Linked DNA regions of Homo sapiens: region 2 is linked to region 1. Evidence: promoter capture Hi-C in 16 types of primary human blood cells and fetal thymus (Javierre and others, 2016). All regions are on one chromosome and are shown on one strand. The core of a region is centred on a gene start or on the middle of the fragment in contact, and the rest is flanking DNA. Distances in the headings are between cores, read along the strand shown.

Region 1 (6,179 bases), core at 1,403-3,902:
TAAAAGGGTAAGAAATCCAGTCAGTAAACAGCCACCCAACCACCACTGTTAGTAGGAGCTAAGTGAAGAAACTTACTCTGTGCCCAGCCTTAGTGGAATGAAGAAGTTGATTGCAGACAGGGGGGATGAAAAAAAAAGGGTGAAACATGACCAATGTTAAAAGAAAGCAACAAAAAGAAACCAAAAAAAAAAAAGAGAACAAAAAACCCATACCAAATGAGCAAACAATTGTTAATGATTTCTGAGTGTTATGAAAGAAAATGTTAAAAATCAGCTGTGCTCAAAACAATACCAAAATAAATATTTGCTTTATTTTTGAACATGACACACACACTTTTTAATAAATTTGTCTTGTCAGTTTCTCCTACTTTTCCTAATCTTGTTCTGTACATCGACTTCCATCTCTGTTTTCCATTCTGTTTAGATTTTTATAAGATTTTATAAAATAATGAATTTGGATTTCTACAAGACACTGTGGAAAATTTATCATCAGTAATAGCTGAAAGGCTAACATTTTCTGGATTCTTAGGGTTTAATTATTCAAGTATATGGATGTTAATTATCTTACATTCAAAATTCTAGTAGCTGGAAAATTATGCTGCGGCTAGGTGATTTTTTGTAGCTGATGCAACACAGCACCATGAATACATTATCAAGTGTTGAACAAATCAACTAAAGGTGAAGACAAAATAATAAAAACAAACACATTTATTCAGGTAAAACTGGACCTTTCCCACACTTGAATTTGCTGCCCACAGACTCTGGACACTGTACTGAGTGTTGAACGTCTGTATCCTTTGCCAAATAAAATGCTTTTAATCATGAAAGAACTGGCTAATGCTAAATTTTTCCCAGTTCTATTTCATATGAAAAATGATGTTCCAGTACAACTACCCTAAATAAGAGGGATCACTTCTCAAACAACTTGAGAAACATTAATATTTTGAAACCATGGCAAGTAATTATGTCTTCTCCCATGGATAGGTGTCTCGAAATTACTGTAAACGGATTACTTTAAATTGGAGTCTGTTTAGAAGCAAAAATTAAAAGTGAGATTAAAGATTTTAAAGAAGCATGCACCATAAATCTCTGGCTGCCATGTCTGTAAGTCCCCCTCTTGAAAAGGCTGTTTGTCATGCAATAGTAATAATCTTAAAAATGCATAGCTTCTTTGGTTTCCTTGTAAAAATAAAAAAGAATGCAATAAATGCCTGTCAGAGGTAGACGTCCCTTTACAGCCAACCTCCATCAACACAAATATGAAGATAATCACAGCTCCATTTCAAACAATTGATTTTTTTTTTTTTTTTGAGCAGCAGCAAGATTTATTGTGAAGAGCGAAAGAACAAAGCTTACACAGGGTGGAAGGGGACCCGAGTGGGTTGCCCCAAACAATTGACTTTTTAAGAGTCAAAGGCACCTTTGAAAATATGATTACAGGCCGGGCGCGGTGGCTCACGCCTGTAACCCCAGCACTTTGGGAGGCCGAGGCGGGTGGATCATCTGAGGTCGGGAGGTAGAGACCAGCCTGACCAACATGGTGAAACCCCGTCTCTACTAAAAATACAAAAATTTAGACGGGCTTGGTGGCGGGCGCCTGTAATCCCAGCTACTCGGGAGGCTGAGGCAGGAGCTGAGGCTTGAACCCGGGCGGCATTGCAGTGAGCCGAGATCGCGGCATTGCACTCCAGCCTGGGCGACAGAGCGAGACTCCATCTCAAAAAGAAAGAAAGAAAATATGATTACAGCTCTGAGTCCTCTCTAGTAGAGGCCCCCAGTTTTTATGTAGGAAGGTCTGAGGGGCACCAAACTACTGGGGGTGAAGGGGTGATTGCTTGAAGGTGGCTGGGGGAGACTAGGTAAGTCTCCAACACCGGCACTCTCCCCAGAAAAATGTGTATATTCACAAAAATTTCCCAACAGTTTCAATGAGTTCACACATCATTAAGGAATCCTACCCTAAAGAGGCGTAGCAACCCGTGGAAAGAAACAGTTCCAGCAATTGCAAGCGCCAAATCCCGCCCTCTGAGAGCACACCTGCTCATCTCAATGGCAGCTAGATGTTATTTCAGGAGCGAGGAGGGTGGTTTATTCCCTTTCCCTAGATGGCAAAGTTAAACGGGTACGAAATTCTGCTCGCTACTTCCTGTTCTGCATTCGAGAGGCCAGCTTCCACCACTACACCCCAACCAGCGGGAGGTGCTTTTTGCGGGAAACGAGTAGGAACCGTCTGGAAACGGAGGACCGTGCCCCTATCCCCGGAACATTCGAGGTATAGGACCAAAGGCCTTCCCTGGCTCGGGCGTGCGTGTCTCGTGACAGGTCGGGCTGCTAGAGGGGCCTTTTTACCCCTTGGATGGCCTCTGGCCCCTTGGGGCCGGGATACGAGACCTAGGCCAGCCGCACCCAGAGGTGGCCGCTCCCTTCCTTCCCTAGACCTCTTCTGGGCCTTTCCCAGGCCAGCGCCTGGGCCCTGACGCCGAGGCCTCCGGGATTTCCCAATTCCTCGCCCTCGGCCTCCCCACGGCTCCCAACAACGCAGCACCCCACCCGAGAGCCAGGCCTTGGTCGCCGCAACTGCAGCCCTCACCATCCTGTCACCGGGCTCCGCTCAGTCACCACCACCGTCGCCGCCCTCTTCCTCAGGCTCCTCGGCGACCCGCCCACTTAACCGCAACCAATGAGAGCAGAGGGAGACAGAAATTGCCGTACGGAGGCCCGCACGGACCCTTCTCCGCCGTAAAGCCGTTTGGGAACTTGTGGAGGCGGGGTGGTAGAGTGCAGAGACGAGATCGCGAAGCTTTGAAAAGCGCGGGCAACATCCGGGCACCTGGGCCGTCGAGCTGAGGCGCGCCTTCCGAGCCTGCTTTTTAGGGCGGATGGCAGCCATGCTGAAGTGCGTGATGAGCGGCAGTCAGGTGAAAGGTGGAGCGGCCTTTGTTGTCTTCCCATTTAGCAGAGAGAAAAGCAGACGTTAATAGGTCGTCCCTACCATTGTCTAATTTTTCCTCTTTGCCTTTTTGCGCAATGACTGAGGACGCACGCCCTGGCCACAGCCCCACCCACTCAAGTCCCTGTTAACTTCTGAGGGGAGGATGAGGACCCATCTCGTGTGACTTAGAGGCAGATGTAATATGGGTGGTATCCGGGAAATAGAGTTGTACCATCGGGCCACAAACTCGGGATGCTGAGGACTGCATGGGGAAGAGTTGAGAGAAAAAAATAATGCTTGGACAGTAAAAGTATTTTTGTGCCAAGAGAACAGCATTAACCTGGTTTTTTTTTTCCCCAGATTCTACCATTTTTAAAAATGTATGAACTTGGAAAAGTCACTAAATCTCTTTGGGGCTCAGTTTCTAAAACGGAAACAGGGGTAATGACAGCACCTTCGTCACAGAGTTTGTTTGGAGGCAATGAAATGGAAATGCGTGTAAAGAGCCCAGTAATAGATGGAATGTACAAGAACTATTAGTGTTGTAAACGGCGCTTTCAAAATGGAAGTTAGGCCGGGTGCAGTGGCTCACGCCTGTAATCCTAGCACTTTGGGAGGCCAAGGCGGGTGGATCACCTTAGGTCGGGAGTTCGAGACCACCCTGACCAACATGATGAAACCCCGTCTCTACTAAACATACAAAAATTAGCCGGGCTTAGTGGTGGGCGCCTGTAATCCCAAGCTACTTGGAAGGCTGAGGCGAGAGGATCGATTGAGCCCGGGAGGTTGAGGCTGCAGTGAGTTGAGCTCGTGCCACTGCACTCCAGCCTGAGTGTCAGAGTGAGACTCTGTCTCAAAAAAAATAAAAAATAAAAAGAACATTAACAATGTCGTACGGGATCAGACTAGTGTGTTTTCCAGCCCTAAATGTGTTCTGTGGTGGGGAAATCTGGCTGCCCTCAAACATCAGAGATGTATGTTGGATACCCCTAATTTCTCTCTCATGACTTGTTGTGACTTGGCTATCAAGCTATTAAAACCACTTCAGATTATCTTCTCCATGCACTGTTTTCACAGTTTTTGGGGGGTCAAATACATTTATCTAAATCAAGTTGTAAAATACATTAGTATGGAAATTGGTTTGCACAGTAGCTCCATGCAACACTGTAAACATATAGAAGGACAAATTTCGGTCAATTTTATCATTTCACACACTACAAATTTATTGAGCCCTGACTATGTGTCTGGCATTTTGCCAAGGGTATTATACTGTATTAAAGTAATGTAGCATTAGTCTGTAAGATACTGTTATTTTTGAATTTCTCTTGAGTCCTCTGAATGCTGAACTAGTCTTGTGATTTGTTTTTATTGTTAGAGGGAAAGAATATAAGCATCACCTTTCTTTTTCTCCATAGTATTTGGGAAAGCAGTTCAAGCTCTATCACGAATTAGTGACGAGTTCTGGCTAGACCCATCTAAAAAAGGTGTAAGTAAGAAAGTTAACAGATCACGTATCAAGGCAAGAGGAGATGTTTAAAGATCCCAGTCCAGATTGAATGTTAACTAGGAAATCCAGAAATTGTAATTATCCCTTTCACTGTTTATCTTTATTTTACATATCTGAATACACTTAGAGCATGGTAAAGTTGAAAATATGCAGATAAGCTTGATTGATTTAAACTGGAAGTCACAAACTGGTAGTTAAGAGACTAGCTACGGTCTGCAGGAATGTTTGTTGGCCTGCACTGTTTTTTTTTTTTTTTAATTTGAAATAATTTCCAACATTTAAAAATTGAGGCCGGGCGCGATGGCTCACGCCTGTAATCCCAGCACTTTGGGAGGCCGAGGTGGGTGGATCACCTGAGGTCAGGAGTTCGAGACTAGCCTGGTCCACATGGTGAAACTCCTTCTCTACTAAAAATATAAAAATTAGCCTGGCATGGTGGTGGGCACCTGTAATCCCAGCTACTCGGGAGGCTGAGGTGGGAGAATTGCTTGAATCCAGCAGATGGAGGTTGCAGTGAGTGAGCCGACATGGTGCCACTGCACTCCAGCCTGGGCAACAGAGTGAGAGTGAGACTCCGTCCCAAAAAAAAAAAAAAAAAAAATTGAGTCAAATTTTTCCTGCTTCTCTTGAAAATTCAGAAGACCTGACAGTTTTGGGACTGCATTCATTCCCAAGTGGAAGTAGTTGGCTGAAACTGAGTAATGGTTTCCCCGCTTAGACAAGGTGTGAGACCGCCAATATGCTGTAACTCCCTTATATATTGCAACTCCCTTATATATTGCCTTTTGCCATTTCACACATTAAGGTTAAGGCTCATGACTGGGTGTGGTAGTTCACAAATGTAATCCCAGCACTTTGGGAGGCTGAGACAGGAGGATCACTTGAGCCCAGGAGTTCGAGACCAGCCTGAGCAACAAAGCAAGACACTACCTGTCTCTACAAAAAAATTTTAAAAATTAGTCGGGTGATATGTTGTGTGCCTGTAGTCCCAGCTACTTGGAAGGCTGAGAGGAGGGAGGATTGGTTGAGGCCAGGGGTTTGGAGGCTGCAGTGAGCTGCGGTGGTACCATTGCACTCCAGCCTGGCCAACAGGCTGGTTTTTTGAAAAAAAGTAAAAAAGAAATTAAAAGAAAGTTAAGGCCCCTGTAGGCATTTACTATTTTATGTTTTCAACATGTAAACTTTTAGATTTAACACATATATGTATTCAATATAATATACATATATGTATACACCTATATATACGTACATGCTTGTATATATACATGTATGTACACCTATATGTATGTATATATATAGGTGTATAATAAATTAACAGACTTGTCCTGAATGCCATTTAAACTATCAAGTATAGAATACAGGTTATGTCCTGTATATATTATAGGTGTACATATATGTATATATATGCAAATTCAATACAGACTATATAGGGCAGTCCATAATTAACATCCCATGTTCTTATTTGAACACATTTAACTGTGATGTTAAACATAATGACGTTTTCTGAATCAAGCTATTATGTAAAGAAAGTTTATTTTCTCCTAAATTTTTTTAAAATAAAAAAATAGAGGTGGGGTCTTGCTCTGTTGGCCAGGCTGGTCTCAGACTCCTGGCTTCCATCCATCCTCCTGCCTTGGCTTCCCAAAGTGCTTGGATTACAGGTTCATGGGAGCCACCATGCGCAACCTCTCCTAAATAGTTTTTATCTTATTTTTCTAGCTTGCTCTAAGATGTGTGAAT
Region 2 (6,179 bases), core at 2,450-4,949, 230 kb after region 1:
TCTCAGGATTAACTTCCCCCAAAGCAAGATTCTGGGTGCCTTTTAAGCAAATGAAACTATGTTTTTATTAAGAATCTTAATAAAACCATCTTATTTTAAGGCTCTTTTAAAATAAGAGCTGGGCGTGGTGGGTCAGACCTGTAATCCCAGCACTTCGGGAGGCTGAGGTAGGAGGATGGCTTGAGCCCAGGAGTTCAAGACCATCTTGGGCAACATAGTGAGACCCCATCTCTTTAAAGAAAGACTCTCCTAGAGGGAAGGGGTTTAGGAGAGACACATATCTGATCTAAAAGCAATGACTTACATTTTCACATGAAATCTTTTTAAATTCCACAGAAGCATGAAACCAGAATTCCAGATTTGATAATGATTAAGGACTGCCATCAAATCCCAGGAATTATCTGGGAGCATCAATTCTGTTTGAAATTGTCTGCTCTGTCCAATCTCACCGCAGCTAGTCCCCTACTTCTGAATTCAATTACGAACTTACACATGTGGCGTTATGACCTTCCTTCTGAGGAAACCTGAGAGTTAGCACCCATCCCCCATATATGCCCCTCAATAACCTACTGACACCAGAGGATCCCCAGCCCTCAGTACTCTAGCAGGAGGCACAATGATCACACGGCAGTGGCTGCCTCTCACAGGCACTACAGGGCATTTGTTTCCAACACTGCACAGACTCCACATGCTCCCACAGGCCTGATGTCACAGGATGGTCATGTTCCCTCAACAGCACAGGCATCCACACATTCTGGAGTCAGAGTGCAGTTCTGACAGAAATATGCCTCTATGCACTGTTTCTACAGGAAACTGATGTTCTGAGTTTAAAACCTAGTCACATACCTTGCAAGAACAAATTTCTCTGGATTGGTTGAGGATTGTCCAATTGTCCAGATGCCTTTGTTTCCTGTACTTACTATACTAAGCACAATCTTTAAAAACCAGGAGTTTGGCCAGGCGCGGTGGCTCACACCTGTAATCCCAGCACTTTGGGAGGCCGAGGCGGGCAGACCATCTGAGGTTGGGAGTTTGAGACCAGCCTGACCAACATGAAGAAATCCCGTCTCTACTAAAAATATAAAAATTAGCTGGGCGTGGTGGCGCATGCCTGTAATCCCAGCTACTTGGGAGGCTAAGGCAGAAGAGTCACTTGAACCTGGGAGGCGGAGGTTGCGGTGAGCCTTGATTGTGCCATTGCACTCCGGCTTGGGCAACAAGAGCGAAACTCCGTCTCAAAAAACAAAACAAAACAAACAAAACAAACCAAGAGTTTGTCCTTAGTCTCTTTTCCTGGGGAATACAGGGACATCTAAAGGTTTAAACCTATACCTCTCCTTTGAGAGTTAGAGCCAGCCCAAGCAACTGACCTGAACCACACCTCCCACCCTGTAATGCAAATCAAGCAGCTTAGGGAGTTTACCACAGGGCTTGAAATGAAATGTAAATTCAACAAATGTTTGCCTTCTCTCTGCAGAGGAGTGTTATCTTTTCTCCTAATAATTTCTGGTTTCTCAATGACTGGGTCTAACACTGACTATGGTTCACCCTGTTGCATATTTCTTTAGAGGTCCTTCACTAGGGGGTTCGGAAAGTTTAACAAACTTCTCCCGCCAGGCTGAGGAAGGAAAATTGCTTGAACCTGGGAGGCAGAGGTTGCAGTAAGCCAAGATCGCACCATTGCACTCCAGCATGGGCAACAAGAGTGAAACTCCGTCTCAAAAAAAAGCAAACTCCTTCTTACGAAAGGCTGAAGGGCAATCTCCAAAAACCACCAACTCCCATTTCCAACAGCAATACTACTACTACTACCACCACAGGATGAGTATCCTTAATCCAAGATGCTCCAAAATTTGGAACTTTTTGAGCACTCACATGATGCTCAAAGGAAATGCTCACTGGAGCATTCTGGATTTCAGATTTTTGGATTAGGGATGTTTAACCAGTAATTATAACACAAATATTCCAAAATTAAAAACAAAAACAAAAAACCTGCAACACTTCTAGTGCCAAGCATTCCCGGTAAGGAATACTTAACCTGTATTATAAAAACAGAGCTGCTGTCTTAGCTCCCCAGTGACAGTGACTTCCTCTTTCCCCAAGGTCAGCTTCACTTCTGGATACTTTTTTTGAGGTGGGGTCTCACTGCATCACCTAGGGGGAATGAAGCGACGCAATCTTGGCTCACTGCAACCATGGTCTCCCAGGTTCCAGTGATTTTCCTGCCTCAATCTCCTGAGTGTCCGCGACTACAGGTGTGCACCACCACAGCTAATTTTTGTATTTTTAATAGAGATGGGTTTTCCCCATGTTGGTCAGACCTCCTGACCTCTTGTGATCAGGTTGAACTCCTGACCTCAAGTGATCCACCCACCTTGGCCTCCCAAAGTGCTGGGATTACAGGCGTGAGCTACCACGCCCCGGCTTTGATTCTTTAGTTATGCCACATACTCCAGCTTCTCCTGCTGATTCCTGCTGGCTTCTCCATCAAAAATCAGTTTGTTTCCTCCTTTTCCCTCTCAGCACTTTAAGCGTGGGCCTGCCTCTTTCTATTCTCTCTTCATTTCCTCCCTAAGGCTACCTCAGACCACTAGGAACATCTGGCTCCTGAAAGGTTTAGCCAGGGTAATCGCCTAGCTTCCAAATCCTAAGATTCTGAGCCATAACCTGTAATGCGGTTTCGCATTACTGTACATCAGACAGCTACGGCAGCAGAAACAGATCAACAAACACTCATGTTTTACCCAACAACATATACCTCAGCCTTTCCATCACATTTACAAAGTTAAAAAAAAAAAAAAAAGAAATGGTAGTATAAAGTACTTATGTACCTGGAAAACAGGCAGTGGTTTTTAAATTGTCCCATGAAAATCAACATTTGAATACAACTTTTCATTTTAATAAAATTAGTTAAGTATTTTATATATATATTAAATGTCTGCAAGCCTTCAACCAAAAGCCACCTATGTCAAGGGCACTTTCATGCCCACAAGTAGACTGGATGGCAAATTATATCTGCCTGATGAGAGAGAGGAAGCTTGAGCATAAGATCTACAAATTGTGTTGATGACCAAACAGGAGTCGAAACTGATACCAACCAACACTGATCTTCTAAGTCATTTTTTAAAGGCCTCTGCATTAAGTAGAAACCGAAACTGATGCAGCCAGTATCATTACATTAGGATACACGTCACAAAAATGAGGTCAACTGGATTTGAATTCATCAGTGCAAACATGAAAAGTATTTGCTGGGCTAACAGCTATGTAAAAGGAATCCTTTAACTCAAGAGCAGGCCAGGCACGGTGGCTCACGCCTGTAATCCCAGCACTTTGGGAAGCAGAGGCGGGCGGATCATGAGGTCAGGAGATCGAGACCATCCTGGCTAACACAGTGAAACCCCGCCTCTACTAAAAATACAAAAAATTAGCCGGGCGTAGTGGCGGGCGCCTGTAGTCCCAGCTACTCGGGAGGCTGAGGCAGGAGAATGGCGTGAACCCAGGAGGCGGAGCTTGCAGTGAGGCGAGATCGCGCCCTGCACTCCAGCCTGGGCGACAGAGCGAGACTCCGTCTCAAAAAAAAAAAAAAAAACAAAAAACAAAAAACTCAAGAGTAACACTTGGAATAAGTATCCAAAACACAGTGTTGGCTGGGTGTGGTGGCTCATGACTGTAATCCCAGCACTTAGGGAGGCTGAGGTGAAAGGATTGCTTAAACCCAGAAATTACAGGTGGTAGTAAGCTATGATCCCACCTCTGCACTCCAGCCTAAGGCTCTGTCTCAAAAACAAACAAAAAAAACCCATCACACCTGCCTTGCATTTCACTACCTAAGGAGTAGTAACTGGCTTACTGGTACTTCTCTGACACAGAATCACTGTTAATATTGAATACCTTTCATGTACAAGTTCAATGCTATCAGTCAGTCCAGAACCCATAGAATTTTTGTCCCTGATGATTCCTGCCACCCCATCTTATCAGCTGGATCTCAAGGTCACAGACCAAGCAAACATCCAGTTGTGGGAAAGGGTGGTAGTAGAAGGGCTCAGTTTGTGAATATAATCTTTCTAGGATGCACTTCTAACAAATGTGCTAGCTCAACATATCTATGTGAATTGAGATGGAAAAACACTGCATCTGGAGACTCTAGGTTACGATGTGGTCTAGGGGAGGGCCACAGGGACAACCCTTTGCTGATATCCCTATAATCATATTAGCAAATGCCAAGTACCTGAAGTTCCTTAACCACCTCTTCACTCCAAACCTGAAACCCGTCCTGGCAGCAATGATGAGCACAAAAGGAAGGTGAAGGTAAAGATTCAAAACCTTTTCTGACTTGAAACCCTTTACTGAACTGATATTTTCAAAGCTTTTTTTTTTTTTTTTTTTTGAGACGGAGTCTCACTCTGCCACCCAGGCTGGACTACTGTGGTGTGATTTTGGCTCACTGCAACCTCCGACTCCTGGGTTCAAGTGATTCTCCTGCCTGAGCCTCCTGAGTAGCTGGGACTACAGGCATCTGCCACCACGCCTGGCTAATTTTTGTATTTTTAGTAGAGATGAGGTTTCCTCATGTTGGCCAGGACGGTCTTGATCTCTTGACCTTGTGATCCACCCGCTGTGGCCTCCCAAAGTGCTGGGATTACAGGCGTGAGCCACTGTGCCCAGCCTATTTTCAAAGCTTTAAGAACTGTGTTTTGTCAATAGTCAAATCGAAGTATACCTTTAATTAAACAATCCAAAATGGGTCACAAAATGTGTAAAATACTGTAAAAATAATCTTTGTTCAGCACATTTTAGTTTTAGGAAAGTTATTGCCATTCTTCCTGGGTGTGGATATGCCAGAAGGAGAAAAACTATAATAATTTCAAAAACTAATTATTTACGTATTGCAAGATTCCATTTGCATGCAATATTCTCTAGAAAAGACAAAAAGTAGATTAGTGGTTGCCTGGGGACTATGGTGATGGTCGCATAACTCTATAAATTTACTACAAATCGCTGAATTGTACACTTTTAACAGAATAATTTTATGGAATGAAATTACATAATAAAGTTGCTTAAAAAAACTATTTGGAATGGTTCTCAGATTTCTACTAAGAATTAAGTTATCTGTGAATACAACAATTTAAATCTTAAAGCAACCATTACCATGATCATTACTTCCTAATCTGATCATCACATCATAAAAGAATCCAAGACCTTATTTTATTACAGCGGCAGTGTTATTTTTCTACCCAAGAGAGAAAAAACTGGCTGGGCATCATGGCTCACGCCAGTAATCCCAGTACTTTGAGTGGCCTAGGCGGGCAGATTCCTTGAGCCAGGAGTTTCAGATCAGCTTGGGCAACAAGGTGAAACCCCATCTCTTCAAAAAAATACACAAATTAGCCAAGCGTGGTGATGCATGTCTGCAGTCCTAGCTACCTGGGAGGCTGAGGCAGGAGGATTGCTTGAGCCTGGGAGGCAGAGGTTGCAATGAGGTAAGATGGTGCTACTGCACTCCAGCCTGGGCAACAGAGTGAGACTCCGTTCCCCCACCCCCCTAAAAAAGCTAAGCTAAAAACAAGTTGATGAAATAGAAAACATGAGAGATGATACCACTGCATCTAAACTCTCACAATTCCTAACAGAAGTATGTGATAATTGTTTATGATAAATATCTTAATTTCAATAACTCTTCCTTAGATATAGAAAAGTACTTACATTCATCATAAAATCCATAAATTCTGTTGATGCTGGCACATTCATGGTTCCCTCTGAGAAGAAAAAAATTCTCAGGATATTTTATTTTGTAGGCCAGTAAGAGGCAGATCGTCTCCAATGACTGCTTTCCCCTGTCCACATAGTCCCCAAGAAACAGGTAGTTGCTTTCTGGTGGGAAACCACCGTACTCAAAAAGTCGCAGCAAATCATAGTATTGTCCATGGATGTCACCTGGAAGCAAGAATTTTGTTACACAGTGTTCCCATACTTAAAGCTCAATCCACTAACAAAGCTTTGGAAAGACATTCTTTAAATATTCATTGTACAATGGCATTGACCTCTAGTAATGAGAGTTTAACTGGGCAGCCAACACTAAGTAATTTCCAATCTTATATCATATTTAGTTCAACTGAGCTTAACAAAAATTTTAAGTATATGTGTATGTCCAGAACCTCACATAAAATTCAACTATTAAG

What was found. Contacts are between HindIII fragments. The CHiCAGO score rates a contact against its expected background, and 5 or more counts as called.
Region 2: a contact is called between a fragment that was not itself captured here and the fragment with the promoter of VPS29 in region 1, in 1 of 17 cell types (total B cells). The highest score is 5.6, in total B cells.

What each region holds. Positions count from the first base shown.
Region 1 is chr12:110,499,459-110,505,637 of GRCh38, forward strand. It overlaps VPS29 (VPS29 retromer complex component), which reads right to left and starts at 2,653. Exons shown (of 4, transcript NM_016226.5): 1 at 2,591-2,653. The coding sequence starts at 2,593. RAD9B (RAD9 checkpoint clamp component B) reads left to right here and starts at 2,873. Exons shown (of 11, transcript NM_001286535.2): 1 at 2,873-2,925; 2 at 4,348-4,418; 3 at 6,159-6,179. The coding sequence starts at 2,880. It overlaps LOC124903015 (a long non-coding RNA gene), which reads left to right. Exons shown (of 2, transcript XR_007063458.1): 2 at 1-367. RefSeq lists an enhancer at 2,482-2,621. The HindIII fragment of the contact is 1,449 bases long and covers 1,350-2,798 here.
Region 2 is chr12:110,724,826-110,731,004 of GRCh38, forward strand. It overlaps PPP1CC (protein phosphatase 1 catalytic subunit gamma), which reads right to left. Exons shown (of 7, transcript NM_002710.4): 3 at 5,704-5,934. Among named protein-coding and RNA genes, the nearest start is that of PPP1CC, 15 kb to the right of the region's middle. The HindIII fragment of the contact is 1,329 bases long and covers 3,036-4,364 here.